7 separate regions of the Homo sapiens genome follow, and all the other regions are linked to region 7. Evidence: promoter capture Hi-C in 16 types of primary human blood cells and fetal thymus (Javierre and others, 2016). All regions are on one chromosome and are shown on one strand. Each heading gives the region's core, a stretch centred on a gene start or on the middle of the fragment in contact. The rest is flanking DNA. Distances are from core to core; before and after follow the strand shown. Region 1 overlaps SHQ1 (SHQ1, H/ACA ribonucleoprotein assembly factor). Region 2 has its middle 140 kb from the start of LINC00877. Region 3 has its middle 110 kb from the start of LINC00877. Region 4 holds the start of GXYLT2 (glucoside xylosyltransferase 2). Region 5 has its middle 160 kb from the start of LINC00877. Region 6 overlaps LINC00877 (long intergenic non-protein coding RNA 877). Region 7 holds the start of RYBP (RING1 and YY1 binding protein).

The links. The method cuts DNA at HindIII sites, captures the fragments that hold promoters and counts their contacts. A CHiCAGO score of 5 or more calls a contact.
Region 1: a contact is called between a fragment that was not itself captured here and the fragment with the promoter of RYBP in region 7, in 3 of 17 cell types (M1 macrophages, M2 macrophages and erythroblasts). The highest score is 6.9, in M1 macrophages.
Region 2: a fragment that was not itself captured here is called in contact with the fragment with the promoter of RYBP in region 7 in 6 of 17 cell types (naive B cells, M0 macrophages, megakaryocytes and 3 more); the score reaches 10.0 in naive B cells.
Region 3: a contact is called between a fragment that was not itself captured here and the fragment with the promoter of RYBP in region 7, in 6 of 17 cell types (naive B cells, M2 macrophages, M1 macrophages and 3 more). The highest score is 8.2, in naive B cells.
Region 4: a contact is called between the fragment with the promoter of GXYLT2 here and the fragment with the promoter of RYBP in region 7, in 3 of 17 cell types (fetal thymus, neutrophils and naive CD8 T cells). The highest score is 11.0, in fetal thymus.
Region 5: a fragment that was not itself captured here is called in contact with the fragment with the promoter of RYBP in region 7 in 2 of 17 cell types (total B cells and naive B cells); the score reaches 6.7 in total B cells.
Region 6: a fragment that was not itself captured here is called in contact with the fragment with the promoter of RYBP in region 7 in 2 of 17 cell types (naive B cells and total B cells); the score reaches 10.9 in naive B cells.

What each region holds. Positions count from the first base shown.
Region 1 is chr3:72,836,348-72,839,047 of GRCh38, reverse strand. The region is part of intron 4 of SHQ1 (SHQ1, H/ACA ribonucleoprotein assembly factor); the gene reads left to right. Among named protein-coding and RNA genes, the nearest start is that of SHQ1, 11 kb to the left of the region's middle. The HindIII fragment of the contact is 1,336 bases long and covers 587-1,922 here.
Region 2 is chr3:71,962,249-71,964,948 of GRCh38, reverse strand. No RefSeq gene overlaps it. Among named protein-coding and RNA genes, the nearest start is that of LINC00877, 140 kb to the left of the region's middle. The HindIII fragment of the contact is 2,712 bases long and covers 46-2,700 here.
Region 3 is chr3:71,987,068-71,989,767 of GRCh38, reverse strand. No RefSeq gene overlaps it. Among named protein-coding and RNA genes, the nearest start is that of LINC00877, 110 kb to the left of the region's middle. The HindIII fragment of the contact is 1,254 bases long and covers 748-2,001 here.
Region 4 is chr3:72,886,639-72,889,338 of GRCh38, reverse strand. GXYLT2 (glucoside xylosyltransferase 2) reads right to left here and starts at 1,293. Exons shown (of 7, transcript NM_001080393.2): 1 at 831-1,293. The coding sequence starts at 1,105. RefSeq lists silencers at 794-923, 1,024-1,253. The HindIII fragment of the contact is 7,571 bases long and covers 1-2,700 here.
Region 5 is chr3:71,942,679-71,945,378 of GRCh38, reverse strand. No RefSeq gene overlaps it. Among named protein-coding and RNA genes, the nearest start is that of LINC00877, 160 kb to the left of the region's middle. The HindIII fragment of the contact is 2,045 bases long and covers 353-2,397 here.
Region 6 is chr3:72,067,100-72,069,799 of GRCh38, reverse strand. All of the region lies in intron 2 of LINC00877 (long intergenic non-protein coding RNA 877), which reads left to right. Among named protein-coding and RNA genes, the nearest start is that of LINC00877, 32 kb to the left of the region's middle. The HindIII fragment of the contact is 1,036 bases long and covers 871-1,906 here.
Region 7 is chr3:72,445,233-72,447,932 of GRCh38, reverse strand. It overlaps RYBP (RING1 and YY1 binding protein), which reads left to right and starts at 1,310. Exons shown (of 4, transcript NM_012234.7): 1 at 1,310-1,437. The coding sequence starts at 1,310. RefSeq lists silencers at 464-873, 934-993. The HindIII fragment of the contact is 10,688 bases long and covers 1-2,700 here.

The DNA.
Region 1 (2,700 bases), core at 5-2,504, 390 kb before region 7:
ATGCCATAATGTGAGCCTAGAATGAGTGCCTTTTAGGTCAGAAATTCTTGTATCTTGAAAATGTTCACTTAATAATTTAGGTTTTTTTTTTTTTTTAAGCTGCTATACTTTCTTTTTGGATGTCTTAACTAATGTATCAAATACCTAGACATCTATTACTTAGGTTAAAAACATTAAACATTAACCAATATAGTTGACTCCTGTCTAATCCCTTTTTGTTTACATCCCTCTGTTTCCCATCAGAAATAAACCACTGTGGCTGGGTGCAGTGGCTCACACCTGTAATTCCAGCACTTTGGGAGGCTGAGGCAGGCGGGTCAGGAGTTTGAGACCAGTCTAGCCAACATGGCAAAACCCTGTCTCTACTTAAAAATACAAAAATTAGCTGAGCGTGGTGGCGCATGCCTGTAATCCCAGCCATTTTGGAGGCTGGCAGGAGAATCGCTTGAACCCAGGAGGCAGAGGTTGCAGGGAGCCGAGATTGCGCCACTGCACTCCATCCAGTCTGGGTGACAGAGTGAGACTACATCTCAAAAAAATAAAAAAGGAAATGAACCACTGAATTTAATGTTTATTATTCTAAGCTTTTAAAATGGCTTAATCATCTAAAATCATTAAACTCTTCTTCAAATTTTAATTGCAAGAGCATTGCTTTTCTAAACAATTTGAATGAATATTCCCTAATGTAGGGGAAAAACAACTGAGCATTTGGGAAAACTCTAAGGGTTTTATAACGTAAATAGTATACTACTTGTAGTACAGGTTTATAACCCCATATGTGCAATACTGGGATCACACAAAGTTCTGAAAACTAAAAGTTAAAATATTTAATTTGGTGGCAAAACTTAACCTGAACCGATACAGATTTTTAAATCCCACTTAGTGTACGTATTCAAAAATTTCCTGTAGAAGTAGTGTTTGGATATGGGCGCTGCCCCAGACATCTTAGAGGTTATTACATAAAGTATGGTGTGTGCACCATGTTACCTTTCTAAACTCTGAAAGAGTGAATCCTGAAGCTCACCTTGCTCCAGGGGATTTGGATAGCACTGTGCTGAGCACTGCGTGTGCAGCAACCAGACTTAGAAATCAAGTGTAAGCCCAAGATTCCAAAAATTGAAATGTATCCTCTTGAAGATATTAAGGTAGATAGGTTTTATGAAATATTGCCACAGAAATCTTGCATAATTGGTTAATTACTTGTAGAGTTCTTCTTCATTCACAGCTGCTGTTTATGGCAGCCGTAACAAGTGGTTCAAAACTGAGTGATCATGTAAGGTTAATAATATGACCCTAATTCTATGAGTAAAGCAGCTAGAAGAAACTGAAATGATGATCACAAATAAGAGATTTTAGAACATCTTTTCTAATTTAAAATGATTTTGAAAACTTCACCATTTTCTCAAATAGTATTTTCTCACAAGTTTATTTTTTCTAGTTCTGCCTATAGATGAAGAGATGTCCATACAGCTTCATTGACTACTCATATGAGTATTTTTACAGCTTTTTCCTCCCCCTGTAGATGAAAAATGGCTTTTTTGTTTCTAATAATAAAAGCAATACAGATTTATTATAAAAATATACAAAGAAGAAAGTAAAAAAATTATTCATAATTTCAACACTGAGGGATCTTTTCTTCATTGAATAATTTAGCCCTTTACAGAAGTCTTTCATATTTTTTTGCCTCCAACTTTTTAGACAGGATTTGTTTGTAAACATCTATATTTTATACTGATAATAAGAAAATAAAATATTTTTGCTGAAACAAATTCTCTTTGAACATTCCTCCCTCCACTCCCCATACCCAGAGATATATTCTTCCTATCCCCAGTCTTTTTTTCCTTTCTGAAATTGCTGCCAGCCACCAGGGTGCCTTTGGAAAACTGCCCTAGCTGCTCAAAGTCAGGACTTCACAACAAGCTTCTGGCAGTGGTGGCTGCCAGCAGCAACAATCCTAGAGTCTCTGGGCGCCAACCCAGCAAGCTCCTGGGACTGCTGCTGCCAGTGCTGCAGGACGCCAGGCTTGCTGGCCCTGTCCTTTTGGCTACACAGGGACCTGAGGCCATTGTTTCCGGGATACCCACTAGCCAGATGTGTTCATTGTTCTTTATTTTCTTTCTGGATTGTCTCTGCCTAACCTGTGCCTAAACTTCCATAAACTTAATTTAAATCCTACCTGACCTTTTCTTGGCAATGTCTATCTTTAAATAGCTCTAATAACTAGTGGCCATAGCAATTGTTTAAAAGAAAAAGGAACCTTTTTTTCCTACTGTAGTTGAACACTTCTCATCCTCTTTCTTCCCTTTGGTTGATTAATGCCTTCTACTTCTAAACCCCAAGCTACCTTTGCTTTTAGTTTGTTTCTGTTTCTTTTTAGAGTCCAGTTTGAACAGGGCTGCTGCATGTGACTGTGCATAGAACAAGCCTGGGTGGGGCTTGCACTGCTCTGAACACTCATGTTCTGCTGTGTACATGTTGCATGACTATAGTGGAGGCCCTGAATCTGGAGGCCAGGGGGAAGAGGAAAGAGGAAAAAGAGCTGCTTTCTTTTTTTTTTTTGAGACGGAGTCTTGCTTTGTTGCCCAGGCTGGAGTGCAGTGGCGTGATCTCAGCTCACTGCAAGCTCCGCCTCCCGGGTTCACCCCATTTTCCTGCCTCAGCCTCCCGAGTAGCTGGGACTACAGGTGCCCGCCACCACAC
Region 2 (2,700 bases), core at 152-2,651, 480 kb after region 7:
GGGGGTGTTCTAGTTTATTGCTGTGTGACAAGCCACCCCAAAGCTTAGCAGCTTAAAACACCAGCCATTTTATTATATGTCATAATTTTGTGGGGCAAGAATTCAGGCAGGGCTCTACTGAGAATTCTGCTGCTCCACGTGGAATCAGGTGAGGGCCTCTGGTGGTGTGCAGCTGGTGGAAGGGCTGGTCTAGTGCCTTGGCTGCAAGGCTGGGTTCAGCTAGGACTATTGATTGGCACACCTACAATTGCCTTCCCAGTGTGACAGTCAGACTTCTTACATGGTGGCTCAGAGGTCCAAGAAACCCTGATGGCAGCTGCAAGGTTTCTTATGATCTAGCATCAGAAGTTTGAGACTGTCCCTTCCGTTGCATTCTATCAGCCAAGGAAGTCACTAAGGTGAGCCTACTTTCAATGGGAGGGGAAAGAGACTCCTCCTCTCTATGATAGGAGTAGCAAAGATTCCATAGCCATCTCTATATATCCAGGAGGCATTACGCATATGTCTAGCCAGAATGTTTGTCTCAGGTCAGGGAAGGTCCCCCACCCAGGGCCTTTTATATAACTTAGTTATCTGCCCCATGAGAAGGCAGGTGTTGGCTGCCAGCCCAGTAGAAGCCATTGCCAGAGAAGCCAGGAAAGTCTCAAAAAGAAACAATAACACCCCTTAAGAGGCATTTGTCCCTTTTTCCCCAGCCTGCTCCTCAACCCCTAAAGCACTAGAGGAAGAAGAGCTAAAAAACAGACCACATCCCTTCCTCCTCAAGATGCCTTAGGTCAAAACCAGGTGTGCTCTGGGGGTTGGGAAATGAAGTTAAATTGGGGTATGAGATTGAATCTTCAAACTTTAAACTAGCCCGGACTGGACTTTTAAAACGTAAAAATGACTGGAAAACTAGGGCTGAAATCTGATTAACGGAGAGTAGACATAGCACAGTTAAAGTCAATAATTAGAGAAAATAAGACAGTTGTTTGTATCTTTACTGAATTTAGATTTTTCAATAACCTGGTAACATTTTCATAATAACATATGGGTGTTATGCAATTAGCAAGAAATAGGTTTGTAAGATTTGAAGATGCTCCTTCCTGAAAAAAGTACAGAGCTTAAACCTCTTCTAAATGATCCATTGTAAGGGCCCATAATCTTTTCTCTGAGATGAAGCAGGGACACTGGTATTGGAGAGGAAAAACTTTTCCTCTACCCTCTTAGGTGAGATAACTGGGGGCCTGTGAATTAAACTCACAAAAGACAAACTGACAGGAGAAAACGCACACAATTTTTATTCATATTTATGTGCATGAGAGTTCACAGAAAAGAAGTGAAACGCAAGCAGTTAGACTTGAGAGCTTGTGTGCCCTTTTAACAAAGAAAAGAGGATCATAAATTGTGGGGCAGTAACTGGGACATATACGGGGGAACTAAGGGAAAATAAGGATTCTTTTAGTAAAGTCTGTTTACGTAGACTCATCTTTGTATGGACCCTTCATCTCTTCACTCTTCTCTTCCTGGTACATGTGTTTGGGATCAGTCACAAAAAGGAATGCCGCCTTCTGGTGTGGGACTTTGGTGGCATTCACTCCCTGTGCTGCAAGCGTTGCTGAGAAGTTACATCTAAGATAAAACAGGAGCAAAGGATCCAGCTTTCAGTTTTCATAAGACTCAAGAGCAGCATCAGCATCACTCAAGGAACGGAGATGGACACAGTGGGGTATTAAAAATACTGGTGACTAGCGCTAGGGAGGCTGAGGCAGGAGAATCGCTTGAACCCAAGAGGCAAAGGTTGCAGTGAGCCAAGATCACACCACTGCACTCCAGCCTGGGTGACAGAGCAAGACTCCATCTCAGAAAAAAAAAAAAAAAAAAAAAAATTGCTGATGACTGCATCAGTCGAGTTCCTGCCAGGACACAGATGGTGCTCTCAGCATGAGTAATTTGAGGTGTGTTTAGTAAAGGCACTATCTACAAAGGGGTGGGCAGAGTATGGGACACCATAGTGGACTTGCAAAAACGCAGGGCTGGTAACAGAGAGCTATTATCACCCTGATGCCTTGAAGGGACAGGAAGGGACAATTATGGGGACCTGGAGGTGGCATGGGCTTCCCGGGAGGAGCTGTGATCTTTGAGGGATGCTGCCACTCCCAGGCAATTCCAGAGGGAAAGAATGAATTGGTAGAACCCAACCAGAAGCCACAGGAAAGGTGCCTCCTGGGCCACAGAGCAGGGTGGAGAATGGCCAAGAATAGATTGTGACAATGGAAAATACCCAGCACGGTGACAGTAAAATGGAATATCAGCAATCACTACCAAGCAGGAACTCACTACATTCCAGACCTGGTGCTGAGCATTTTACAGGCATTCACTGATCGAATCATCGCAAATTTATCAGCACAGTTTCTATTCATATTGCCCACATCACAATTTACTAAATTGTCCAGCACTGCACAGCTAGGAAGTGGTACGACTGGGGTCTGTCCTTTTCATTGTCTTTAATGAGCTCTTTCAAAACTCTGTTGTAGGAAACTGATAATAATGCCAATAAGTTTGGTCCAGTGGAGATGCCATTGAGTACCCTTTGGAAGTAGACAGTACCGCATCTGTAGGGGCGTAAAAAAAATAGTCTCTCTACATTTCATAGTTCTTAGTTAGGACAGACTCCTATAACAAAAGACAGATTAACAAGAGAAAAAGTTTATTAACATG
Region 3 (2,700 bases), core at 125-2,624, 460 kb after region 7:
ACATAAGAAGGAGCTATTTTTCTTGGGAGATATTTTAGCTCACATTCCATAGAAAATAGAGCCTGAGATGATGCTTACCTGACCGTGCTTATTGGGGGTGCAATCACAGGCCACAAGAATAAGGGAACAAAGAAATGAGGTGGAGAAGGAAGGAACGCAAATGTAGGTGGTGCATTACCAATTGGGCTGGCCACAGCTTCACAATGAAACACAGCAGGTTGCTTGTTCATGCAGTACATCTGCAGAGAAGTAAAAGAGGTACTCCTAAGCCTCAGAAGAGTCCATCAGGGGAGCAAAGTGCAAGGAATTTAACTGTGGCTCCTTCACTGCCAGGTCTCTCCTTGGTCAACATTAGCTCCATGGGGCATTGACTCATGCCATTTCTGGGTGGTGTCATCTCCATCTAAGCAGCCACTGAGGAAGCCAAATTCCACGCCCCAAAGCATGATGCTTCTCCTGCGCCTGGAATTAGAGGGAGGAGCCAGGGCCCTGATGAGTCAGGTCAGTCCTGGGCCTCAGAGTGGGCATGACGGGGGTCATGGGAAGGCTTTGCCTTTACTCCAGGGGAGACTGATGCTGCTGCGGGGATTAGAATATGGGGACCTAGGATACAGATGTGAGCCCCTCCCTGATAGAATATTGAGAGGATAATTTTATTTTCTCCAGGACAGTGTATGCCCAGCCACCCAAGAAACATCTATTTTTATGAGGAGATGTTTTAGCTCATGTTGCTTAAAGATTAAAGCTTAGAATAGTGAAGCTGAGCAAATATATGGAGGCCCATAAGTTACATCCTGTGCAGTTTGAATATCCAAGAATGTTTGAGAAACAGTGTATGTTCATTGAACTAGTTTTTTGTTTTTGTTTTAAGCAAACAGGATCTTGCTCTGTCACCCAAGCTAGAATGCAGTGGTATGATCATGGCTCACTGCAGCCTCAACCTCCCAGGCTCAATGATCCTCCCCTCTCAGCCTCCTGAGTAGCTGGTACTATAGATGACTGACACCATGTCCAGCTTTTTTTTTTTTTTTGTAGAGACAGGATCTTACTATATCATCCAGGCTGGTCTCAAATTCCTAGGCTCAAGTGATCCTCCTGTCTTGGCCTCCTAAAGTGCTGGGATTATAGGAGTAGGCCACCACCTCTGGCCTGAACTGATTTTTAAAGGGAGAAATCCAGGGCTCCTTTCTCTTGAGTAGGGAATGTGAGCTGATGGTCAGAGTGGAAATGCACAGAGGCCAGGGGCTGGAGAAGATGAGATAGCCAACTCCTTAAGAGGAAGTGACGGGGAAGACAGAGAGGTTTTTAGAGTTTTATGAAGTTCAGTCTGGGCAGTGCTATAAATTCCCTTTCTCATTTTCCTTGAGATCATCAGCCCCATCTATATTACCTCCTAATAGTTTGTAAAACTGATCTATTTGAGGCAGGGGCACTGGCCCCAGTGCTGAGCTCAGCCTCAAAGAAGGCACAGGGTAAGCTGAGGATTACATTGAGATGTTTGCTTTGCCTGGGGTTCACCAGGTGCCAGCTTTTCCTCTGCATTAGACAGATTTTTGATTTCAAACAACAGAAATTAACTCTGGCTTTCTTCAGTGGAGAAGGAATTGAGAAAGAATATTGGGGACTGGACAGGGCAGGAATCAAGGCAGTTGCAGTAGGTCAATCAACAGGAAGAACCACAATGAATTTTAACAGGAAGCATCTGCCTAGGATGCCACCACTACCACCGCCAGGAAGAAATTAACCACCCTGCGGCTTTGCCTCACTCCCTGCAGATTTAGAGTCCAATTAGCTCAGCCCAGTCAGATGTGTATATATCCTGCCTGCCAGGGGAGCACAGGGAACTGTTGTGAGAGGCAAGGAACCGCGTTCCAACAATTACTACACACATGAGGCAGGAGGGGGTGGATTCTGCTTGTAATTCCGCTTGGAGAAGCAGGAGGCCACAGTCATTAAAGGTACTAGCTCTGGGATCAGATAGCCTGGATTTGAAGTCAAGCTTGGCCATTTTCTTGCTTAATGTACCTGGATAAGTCACTTTAACTCTCTGCTTTTCAGTTTCCTTGCCTATGAAATGAAGCAAAAACAATCCTTACCTTAAATTATCATTATGGGCTGGGTGCAGTAGCTCACTCCTGTAATCCCTGCACTTTGAGAGGCAGAAGTGGGAGGACTGCTTGAGGCCAGAAGGTTGAGGTTACAGTGAGCTACAGTCACGCCACTGCACCCTAGCCTGGGCAACGGAGCGAGACCCAGTTTCTAAAAGAACCCAAAAAGCTTCGTTATAAGAAGAAAAAAATTAATTTAATTAAAACATTTAAAGCATCATTATGAAGATTAAGGGTTAAAGCCCTGAAAACGTTGTTAGGGCCAAAAATTGTTAGCAACTTGTATTAGTTTCCCGTGGCTGCTGTAACAGATACCACAAAAACTGGCTCGGTTAGGAAAACAGAAATGTACTCTGTCACTGTCTGGAAGCTAGAAATTTAAAGTCAAGGTGTCAGCAGGACTGCACTCCCTCTGGAGGCTGTAGCAGGGATTCTGTTCCCTGCTGCTTCCAGCTTCTGGTGGAGCCTGGCATTGCTTAGTTTGTGGCCACATCACTCCAATCTCGGCCTCTGCCTTCATGTGGACTTTTCCTCCTCTGTCTTCTTATCTTCTGTCTCTTATATGAACACGTGCATTCCACTGAAGACTTAT
Region 4 (2,700 bases), core at 44-2,543, 440 kb before region 7:
AACAGTTTTGAAAGGGCAGATGAAACAGACTCGCTACAAGACAAGGGGATTGTTGAAAAGCCCTCCACAACAAAGGAAATGAACTCAAATCCCTAACCTGCGGGGCGTTCCAGCAACCCTGAGGCCAAAAATAAAGCTCTCTGATGAAAAGCCTCCGCGTGTTAGGCTTTGTGTAGGGAAAGAGAGTATCAAACAGAAGGTCGAAGGTTAAGTTGTTTTTCTTGTAGGAGGACCCTTTGACCACACTCGAGCCTGAAACAGAATGAGGATCTGGAAACCCCCACTCTGTCTTTTCTGTGCCACGCATCAGTCCTTTCAAGGAGAAAACTTCTTTTTAATAAACTTAGGTCAAGTGTCCCTTCTGTTCTAAGCATGGGGGTACTCGAGGTTAAATGAGAGGCTGCCAGTCCTTGGTAAACATCTAACTTTTCCAACTCAACCATATCTAAGGTTTCGGTAAAATTCTCCAGTGAAACATGAGAATTAGATAAAACATTCTTGCACCGTGATGGCTTTTGACAAATTAAACAAAGGGTGCATGTTTGCAAGAGTGCAAAAATACGCCTTGCCTTGACAGTTAAAAAATGTAATGTACGAAACCACTTTCCTTGACACTTCAAAAAATGTACGTGATTATCAACACCGAGCTGTTAGGGGGACTCCACCAAGGTGGGTCTTCTTTTCTATCGGGTTAAGAAACAGAAGTGGGCAGCCCGTGGGTGAAACTTGGAAATCTGTCTCTCCAGCGCAAAGCCTCCCTTGGACTTGGCACGGGTGTAGGGAGCGAGACACGGGTCCGCAGATGGGATTCTGGGGTTGCCACGACTCACCTCGCCAACTTCTCCAGTCTCGCAGCGCCCCGGCGGCCCGCTCGGGGGCGCGGACGCGGGGGCCGGCGCCTCCGAACTCCCGGGCTGGCCCCGGGGAGGGCGCCCGGCCCCGGCCAGCGCGCGGGGACAGGCGCGGGGTGGCGCTGCGGGGCGGACGCGGGGCGCGCGGGCAGCGCTGGGGGCTCAGCGCGGCCAGCGCGCAGGGACAGCAGCGCCAGCAGCAGCGCGGCCAGCGCGAGCAAGAGCAGCGCCGCCGCCTTGCTGCGGAGCTTCATGGTGCGGCGCGGCGGCGGCGGCGGCCCCCAGGCGGCTCGGCCCCTCTGCGCATCGCGGCGGCGGCAGGATGAGTGCAGCAGCGCGCGGCGGTCGCCTCCTCCGCCCGCCCGCCGGGGACTGGGGTCGTGGCGGCCGGCGGGCGGCCGGCGGCGGCGGCGACGGCGAAGGAGGAGGAGAGAGAGGAGAGGAGGGGGAGGCGGTGAGAGCTGGGTTACAGGAGGAGCAGCCTGCGCCTACCGTACTGTGTGGAGTAGCCGCCCCTCCGCCCGCCCGCAGCCAGGCTCTCGGGCTTCTGGTAGCTCAGACTCAAAACCACTTCATTCATTCATTCGTTCGTTCGTTCGTTTACTTCCCCATTCACTCACACACCCATGCCATCCACTGTTCCCGCTGATTCTCTCATACCATGATTCACTTATTTGTTGATGTATTCCATGTGCTTCCTCCTTATTTATTTTATCCATCTATCCACACATTTGTGCACTTATCCACACATCCTTTCAGGCAGGAACATCTCTGTCCTGTTTGCCCAGTGCAGGGATCTGCGGGTGGTGGTGCCCAATAAATATCTGTTGAATAAACCCCTATTGCCGCCTCTGTCTTGCCACCTCCCTTTTTCCTGGAGGAGGACATATTCAACAAGGACACATGCAAAATAAGGCAAAGCGAGTAAAAGTAACACGTGATTAGTAGTTGGGGTTTCAGACTCAAAACACCAAAGTAGAACTTGGGACAGCTAGACTGGACCGAACCGATCCATGTAGTCTGAAGAAATTAGAGAATGAATTTCAAAGTTTGGATTTGAAATCTGACACTGTGCTTAACTGGCTTGGTGATCCTGAGGAAGCTGCACAACTTTCTTAAGCCTTAACTTCCTTACGTGCAAAATGGGAATGACAATACTGCTCACTACAGAGGCGTTTTGTGAGCATTAAATTAAATAATGCCTTCAAAGAAACTAGCACAGTGCCTGGCTCACAGTCGGTGCCCAATAAAAGTTCTGTAATGATTAGTTCAATAAAACATAGCTTATAATATACACATAAACACACATTTTATTTTCTTTCTGGCACAGATTTGAGATAGAGTAATAATTTCACAACACAATGTAAGAATGGCTTCTTTGGAGACTTTAACAGCTGCAATCGCCAGATGAAGGTCGTAATTTCCAGACGATTCTTCCAGGGGATCCCCAGTTACAAATCTGAAACATTAGGACACATCCTCTTATGACTCACGGTGAACTGACAGCCAGGACTCCATTAACTCTCTTTTCAGCACACCACAGAACAAAGAACACTAGTTAAGTTATAACAACGTCCCTGAGTTTTTCAGTTTTTTTTTTTTTTTTTTTTTTGGATCACTCTGTAGCCCAGGCAGGAGTGCAATGGTGCAATCTTAACTCACCGCAGCCTCCGCCTCCCGGGTTCAAGCCATTCTCCTGCCTCAGCCTCCCAAGTAGCTGGGATTACAGGCTGCGCCACCACACCCGGCTGATTTTTGTATATTTAGTAGAGACGGGGTTTCACCACGTTGGCCAGGCTGGTCTTGAACACCTGACCTCAAGTGATCCGCCCGTCTCGTTCTTCCAAAG
Region 5 (2,700 bases), core at 126-2,625, 500 kb after region 7:
GGAAGGGACTCTGCTTGGCCCAATGTGAGTCAAGAGCCCACTGCAAAGCAGTCACCTATAGCCACAGGAGAGGCCACATGTTATCACACGTCACCAAATGCCTGCTGAACTAAGGGGGTGTGGTTGTTAAGAGGAGATTGTTGTGAACAGGGCAGACACTCTCAAAGTGTCTGCTGTGGGTGACTGTAGAGAAAGTAGAGAATAAAGTCATTCCCCTCTCCAGCCAACCCCACCCCTCACAGCCCACGTACCAAGGGTGGTCTGAGAACCTGGCAGAGAAAATGGCACCATGAGCAAGACATGAAAAATTCATTGATTGCCTGCCTGTCTGTGAGGGAAGCAATGCCAAGCTTCATTCATGCTCATCATTAATTCAATCCCAGGCTGGACTCTTTGGCTCAGAGCTTTCAGTTTAAAACAAATGAGCTTGGATGCACAGTCAGCCTACGGTTGTCTGCAGGTGATCTATGTCGACGTTGGCTTCTCTCTGGCAAACCCTCCTTTCAAAGTTATTGCCAGTTAACAGATTCTACACAGCCCTAACTACCCCTTGGAGGACATTTGGAGCTCCGGATTTGCAGTTAGCACCTTTCTCTGCTTAATTACAGCATTATGGATATCTCTGCACCCTCTGTTTACTTTGCCTGCTGAGATGCATGCTGAAAGCCAAGTGCCACCTGCCTGGCTCCAGGGAAGGTTAGAGAGGCAGACCTTTCATCAAGCAGAGAATAAGCTGTGTACCCCCAGGGAGCAGTGGCTGGGAGGAGCTGGGTGAGCACCAGGTGGGAAACTTGGCTCTCAGTTTCTTGCCTCTCCAGAGTGAAGTCTTTACCAAGGGGCCCTCTTTTGTTCTTAGAATGAAAACAATAGCTCATATTATTGAGTTCTTATTATGCGTCTATCACTTTGTTTGGTGGCCAGCCTCCAAGATGGCCCTCTGTCGTCCTTACCTTCTAGTACACATGCCCTTGGGTAGTCCCTTCCCACAATGAAGCAGAGTTGACCTGTGTGAGCAGAAGAATATTACATAAGGAATGGTATGTGACTTCTGAGGTTATGCCATAAAAGACATTGAGGCATCTGCCTTTGCCTCTTGGATAGCTTGCTCTGGAGGAAGGCAGCTGCCATGTTGTGAGGACACTCAAGCAGTCTTCAGGAAAGGCCTGTGTGGGGAGAAACTGATGCCTTTGGCCAATATCCAGCACCAATTTGCCAGCCATGTGTGTGAGTCACCTTGGAAATGGATGCTCCAGCCCTGATTAGGCCTTCAGATGATCCCAGCCCCTAGCTTCCAAGTCTTCCAGCTGCAGCCCCCCAGATAGTGGAGCAGAGCTAAGCGGCCCCAAGTGTACTCCATCTGAATTATCCATGCAAACTGTGAGGTACAATAAATGATTGCTGTGGTTTCAAGTCATTAAGTTTTGGGGTGGTTTGTTAGAGAGTACAGTCGATCCTTGTACAAAATGGGTTTAAATTATGCAGGTTTACTTATATGCAGGTTTTTTTCAATAAAAGTTACATTGAGCATGCCTGCCTCTCCTGCCTCCCCTTCCAGCTCCTCCACCTCTTCTGCCTCTGCCAACTGGAAACAGCAAGACCAACTCCTCCTCTTCCCCCTCCTCCTCAACCTACTCAACTTGAAAACAATGAGGATGAAGACCTTTATGATTAATGAATAGTAAATATATTCTCTCTTCTTTAAGATTTTAATAACATTTTCTTTCCTCCAGCTGACTCTATTGTAAGAATACAGCCACCTATATGCTTCAATACATGAGCATACAAAATATGTCTTCATTGACTGTTTATGTTATCAGTAAGGCTTTTGGTCAACAGTAGGTTATTAGCAGTTAAGATTTTGGGGAATCAAAAGTTATATCCAAATTTTCAACTGTGTACCCTTAGCCTCCATGTTGTTCAAGGGTCAGCTGTAATAGATCACTAACATGCTCTGTGTGTGCTTTAGAGCAGCAGTCCCCAACCTCTTTGGCACCAGGGACTGGTTTCATGGAAGACAATTTTTCCACTAATAGGGGTGTGGGGATGGTTTTGGGATGACTCAAACACATTACATTTTTTGTACACTTTATTTCTATTATTGTTACATTGTAATATATAATGAAATAATTATACAACTCACCATAATGTAGAATCAGTGAGATCTCTGAGCTTGTTTTCCTTCAACTAGACGGTTCCATCTTGGGGTTATGGGAGAAAGTGACTGATCATCAGGCATTAGATTATCATCAAGAGTGAACAACCTAGATCCCTTGCATGTGCAGTTCACAATAGGGTTTGTGCTCCTTTGAGAATCTGATGCCGCAGTTGATCTGACAGGAGGCGGAGCTCAGGCAGTAATGTGAGCAATTGGGAGCAGCTGTAAACACAGGTGAAGCTTCACTGGCTCTCCCACTCCTCACTTCCTGCTGTGTGACCTGGTTCCTAAAAGGCCACAGACTGCTACCAGGGCGGGGGACGGGGTGGGCGGTGCGGTTGGGGTTGGAGACCCTTGCTTTACAGCATTATTTCCTGTAATCCGCACAACAGCCTACAAGATAGATGCTATTAGCCATCCACATTTCACACATGAGAAAATAGAGGAACAGAAAGTTTTCTTGCTTACCAGATCCATTGGTGGTTCATCCATATCCCCTCAGTCTTCACCCTCCCAGTCCTTGCCACATCCTACCGTCCTACTGC
Region 6 (2,700 bases), core at 139-2,638, 380 kb after region 7:
GACAGAATTTCATCTTCCTCAGAGAAACCTCAACTCTAGTTTTAAGACCTTTCAACTGATTAGGTCAGGTCCACCCAGACTATGGAGAATAATTTTCCTTACTGAAAGATTATGGACTTTAATCACACCCACAAAATACCTTCCCAGAAACACCTAGACTAGTGCTCCATTGAATAACTGGGAGCTATAGCCTAGCCATGCTGACACATACAACTGACTGTCACAGATGGGAAAGGGAGGGGTGCCCACACAGGGAAGGCTTCTCTAAGAGGTGGGGTCATTTGAATTGATACGTGAACATTGAAACACTGAGCATTAAACTGCCATTCTAAGAGCCATGAGATGAGAATATTCCAGATGGAAAGAAAAGCAGATGGAAAGGATCTCAGATGGGAAAGAATCTGTCTTATTTTAGGAACAAAAGGAAGGTCAATGTGTCTGGAGTGGAGTGATCAAGGGGCACAGTGGTACCTGAGTGAGTGGGAGAGGAGGACAGAAGCTGGGTTGTGCACAGTGATGTATAAAAGTCAAGTTTATAGAACTCCAGATTACTACTTATTACTACTTATAAAAAGATGGTGATGGTTAGAGAAATTAGAGCAGGTCTCTGAAGAAGCTTCTACCTGAGTATTTCTGGGTATCAAATTGGTATAAAGGTGTCTATTTGCTGGCTCAAAAAAAGTGCTTAAGGCATGGAACTTAAGAAAGCCTGAACATCACCAAATTGAAATGATCTAGGACTCCATAAAGTCAGACCATCCCTTATTATTAGGTTGGTGTAAAAGTAATTGTAGTTTTTGCCATTGAAAGTGATGGCAAAAAAATTATTGTTTCAGAAAAGCAATCTTCTCAAGAGCTGAAGAACAAGCTTAATAGCTGGGGAACCTCCATGGGACATCTCCAGTCTAGAGGTTTTCCTTAACCAGTCTTTGCATTCCAGGGCCTTTTGAAGGCTAGAGTTGTCAGATGGCAAACCAATTGTTTACATGAAGCCGCTCAATATGAGTCAACACTTTCTGTGTCTTGGGGACTTACAACTTGCTTAAGGAAAGATTGCAACAATTTTCCTTAAACAAACAACAAATCAGTTTTACATATTGATACTGAATTGTAATTCCACAGACAGCTTTGTCTCCTGGCTATTGTAAATATGTTTGTGAACCCTCAGTATTGGTGATGTGCAGAAAACATTATTACCTAGGCCAGCTGGAAATTCCTGATATCAATAACTTTTCCGAATTTGCCTGTTGCCTACAACTTAAACCAGGATTCCTCCAAACTGGATAAAAGAACTTCGGGAAAATCACTTATTTTCTCTGAATCTAGGTTTCCCTATCTATTATGGGAAAAAATGAAGATTTTTCAACTCTCTGAGTTATCTTTTGACCCAGAAATTCTGGTTCCATGAGAATTCTGTAGATAATATGTAGATTATCTCCAGTATTTTGTTTCAATTCAGTAGACAGAAGAGGCAAGAAATGTTGATACCTGTTATATGTCATGTGCTAGAGCAATTTTGCTTCCTAAAATCTTCATGATGGATTCTTCCTGTTCTATCTCCCCACCCCCACTAATAATCAAATAATGATCTATTGTAGCACAAAAAATTACCCCTAAAATCTAGTGGCTTAACACAAAAAAAATATTTACTATCTCCACAATTTCTGTGAATTAGGAATTTGAGACATAGCTGGGCTCTGGCTTAGGGTCTCTCATGTAGTTGCAGTCAAGATGCCAGCTGGGTCTATGGTCAACTGAAGGTTTAACTGGGGCAGGAGGAGCACATGGCTGTTGGTGGAAGCCCTCAATTTCTCACCATATGGCCTCTCCATATACTGTTTGGTATATCCTCATGACATGGCAGCTGGCTTTTCCCAGAATGAGTGACCTAAGAAAGAAGGAAGCTTAAGTGTGTCTTATGATCTAGTCTTGGAAGTCATACATGATCAGTCTCATTATATCTACTGGTTAGAAGTAAATCAGTAAGTCCAGCCCCACACTCAAGTCGGGGATGGAAATTAGGAGGACTGCCAAGCACTTTTGGACATATTTTAAACCACCAAAGTTCTGTCTTGTGTGTGTGCCAGAGAAACTTCACTCCCTAAGACCCTGATGATATTGTTCTTCCAACTCTATCTTCCCAACCTCACCCCTACTAGATAAATAGTATTTAGCCTATAACTTTTCTCTCCTTCTGTCTTGTATAATTTATTCTGAGCACAATGTGGCCTTGCTTAAGAAAACCTGAACATCAAAAATACTCCTCTTTTGCTGCTTTCAAGTTTTTAACTCCCTTGGTAGTAATTGGCAAATCTTCCCTTCCCCACCTCTTAGGTAGTCCATTGCATGAGGATAGGGTAAGGGGAAAGTAGAGGTTAAAATAAGGGATATTTTTTTCTTTAGCCCTTTGATATGGTTTGGCTGTGTCCCCACCCCAATCTCATCTTGAATTCCGACATGTTATGGGAGGTGCCCAGTGGGAGGTAATTGAATCATCGGGGCAGGTCTTTCCTCTACTGTTTTTGTGACAGTGAATAAGTCTCATGAGATCTGATGGTTTTTAAAACGGAGAGTTTCCCTCCACAAGCTCTCTTTACCTGCTGCCATCCACATAAGATGTGACTTGCTCTTCCTTGCCTTCTGCGATGATTGTAAGGCCTCCCCAGCCACGTGGAACTGTGGGTCCAATTAAACCTCTTT
Region 7 (2,700 bases), core at 61-2,560:
ATTCAAAACAACCCTGGGAGGATGAGCCCCATTTTGGAGATGAAGGAGCTGAGGCACGAGGTTTTAATGCGGGCATGTGGTCGCCAGAATTTGAATAGCAACTTCCCTAAGGAAACGCCCTATTTAGACTCTAGGGGAGAGGAGGATCCCAGGAGGAGTCCGCCAGCAGAAGCTCAGAGTCTGGCCTGGGGGCATTTAGTTATGCCACGCCCTTTCTCTACTGTTCCCTCCCGCGACAGGGGCCTGACAGGGAGTGGGGCTTCGGGCCAGCGTCTCGGCCGGACGCAGGGACTTCAGAAGAGGCAAATACAAAGCTCCGCATGGCAGAGGAACAGAGGGGCGCGGGGGAACGCGGTCCAAAGGTGGACCTTGTCGGCCCCTGGGCACTGCAAGCCTCGAGGCGCTGCGAGCGGTGAGGCTGTTGCAAGCTCCCGCGGCGCGCGCAAACTGCGTGGAACTACTTCCCCGGGGCGGCTTCGGGGCCGGGGTCCCGGCAACAGCCTCACGGGGCGCCGTGCGGGGCCCGAAGCCAGTTGCCAGCTCCCGGGCGCGGCCACGTGCGCCCCGCCGGGCTTGCACGCTCCGCCGCGCCGGGCCGCGGGGCCACCGACAGGCACGCGCGCCCCCAGCGCGCACACACTCCCGGGCACGCACACCGACCGCCCGGCCCACGTCCGCCACGCCCCGCCTTCCCCCGCGCCCCGCCTCCGCCCTCGCGGCGCCGGCCGCCGCCCTCCCATTGGCCGCACGGCGCGTGACGCGCGGCGCCAGGCCCCGCCCCTCGTCAGTCACTCGGCGGAGGCGGCGCTGGCGGGGACTAGTCTCGTCCGGAGACTGTGATGGATTTAACCAGGTGGGGAGGGAGGGAGGGCGCGAGCTTGGGAGTGGAGAGGGAAGGAGCCGGCCCACTCCCCGTCGCCGGCCTCGGGCTGCCCCTGCGCGCCCCCTCCAGATCCGGCCCGCGGCTCCCCTCCCGGCCCCCCCAGCCCCACGCTCAAGTCCACAAGTCCGCCCGCTTCCTGCGCCCGCCGCGGCCCTTCCCGGGGCGCCGCCGCCACCGCCTGGTGTGCGAGGCTATCCGGCCCGGGCCCGGGGCTTGCAGGGTGCCAGTGGGGGCGCCCGGTTCCCTTCCTCGCTCTCTCTTCCAGTCCCCGGAAAGGGTGGGTGGGTGGTCTCCCGAGCGAAGTTTCCAGCACTGGATTCCTGCGAAATTACGACGGCTCACCCGCGTCTGTGTTTTGCTGTCTCTCCCCCGTTTTCCTGCTCCCTGCCTCTTCCCTCCCTTTTCCCCCACTCTCCACTCCTCGGAAGGCCAAAAAGACAAGCGAAACCTGCCGCAGACGAAGGGTTTTGGGATTGTAGCGTCTGCACCTTCAGAAACAGTGCTGAAGCCTTTAAATGCAGCATCTGCGATGTGAGGAAAGGCACCTCCACCAGGTACTTGAAGATCTGTGTTACCTTTTGTTAAAGGACTTTTTTTTTTTTTTTTTAAGTGAGAGGGTAGTGAGCCTTACTTTCTGCCCTTTTTCCAACTTGTTGATTACGGCTTTTTTTGTATTTGCGGGTGGGTTGTGTGTGTTTTTGGGTTGAGTGTATTAAGTGTTGGGTGAAAAGCCTTGTGTTCGCTAAATGATTTATGGGAGGGAATTTTTCCAGGTTTTCATTTTATTTCAAACGGACACTGGATTTATTTGACACTTGTGTCTATTGGCTTATTGGTATTGGCTGGGGAAGAGAGGAAGCAGTACTATCGCTATGGATTGTAGGACATAGATGTTTTATATTTTTGCCATGTGTAGAATGGTTTTAATTTGCCTGTCCCGAGTTACTTTTCTCTTGTCTGAGAAATTTAGTGGGGGTAGTAAGGCTGGCTGTGCTTTTCCTGTCTTGAGCTGCAAATGTCTGTTACTTTCTTGCACTTGAAAATAAATGTCGGTATTTGATAAAGTAAGTGCATTTTGTGGGAGACTGAGCTGTCAGTTTTTTTTTTCTTTGACTAGCTTATGTGGGGTGGTGATGGGGGACGATTTTGTAAAATGGTGAAATGAGCAGTGACTGTGGAAGTTTGTGTTTAAAGCTCTGTGATGATGAAAAGAATGTTGAAAGAATTCCTTTTCATTTTGATGAAGGTCGTAAACTGCATGTGATGTTAAAACGAGTTAACTACTTTAGATTTAACATTCATAAATACTTGGATAAAATGTCAAGACTCATGTAGTCTTTTGGTCATCTTTTAATTTATGTCTGAATTTGTTTCATTGGCGTTAGAGTTTGAAGTTAAACTGTTCTTGGTGTCATTTAATGAACAGGCATTGGGTGTGTGTGTGAGACAAGAATGAGTTTTTGGTGGATCCTTTAGAACATTACAGTTGATTGCCAAAAGTCTCATTTTATCAGGTACTTATTTTTGAATTGGTGACATTTCAGTGTGACTGTGTAGTAGTACTTCACAGTTCCAACTGGATATTGTTCTTTGATTAGATGAATATGTCATGTTAAGGTTTCATTGGTTTATTTATACTTGGGATTAAATAGGATTATTGGGCAACCTAAAATAATCTAACTCTGAGATTAATTGGCCTAATTATTGTTTCTGTGAATTGCACTCTTTAAATGATGATACCTTTGAATAAAAATAATCAAAAACTAAAAATATTACTCCATACGTTGTTTTAAGAAATTTTTGTCGGTGTTTTGTAT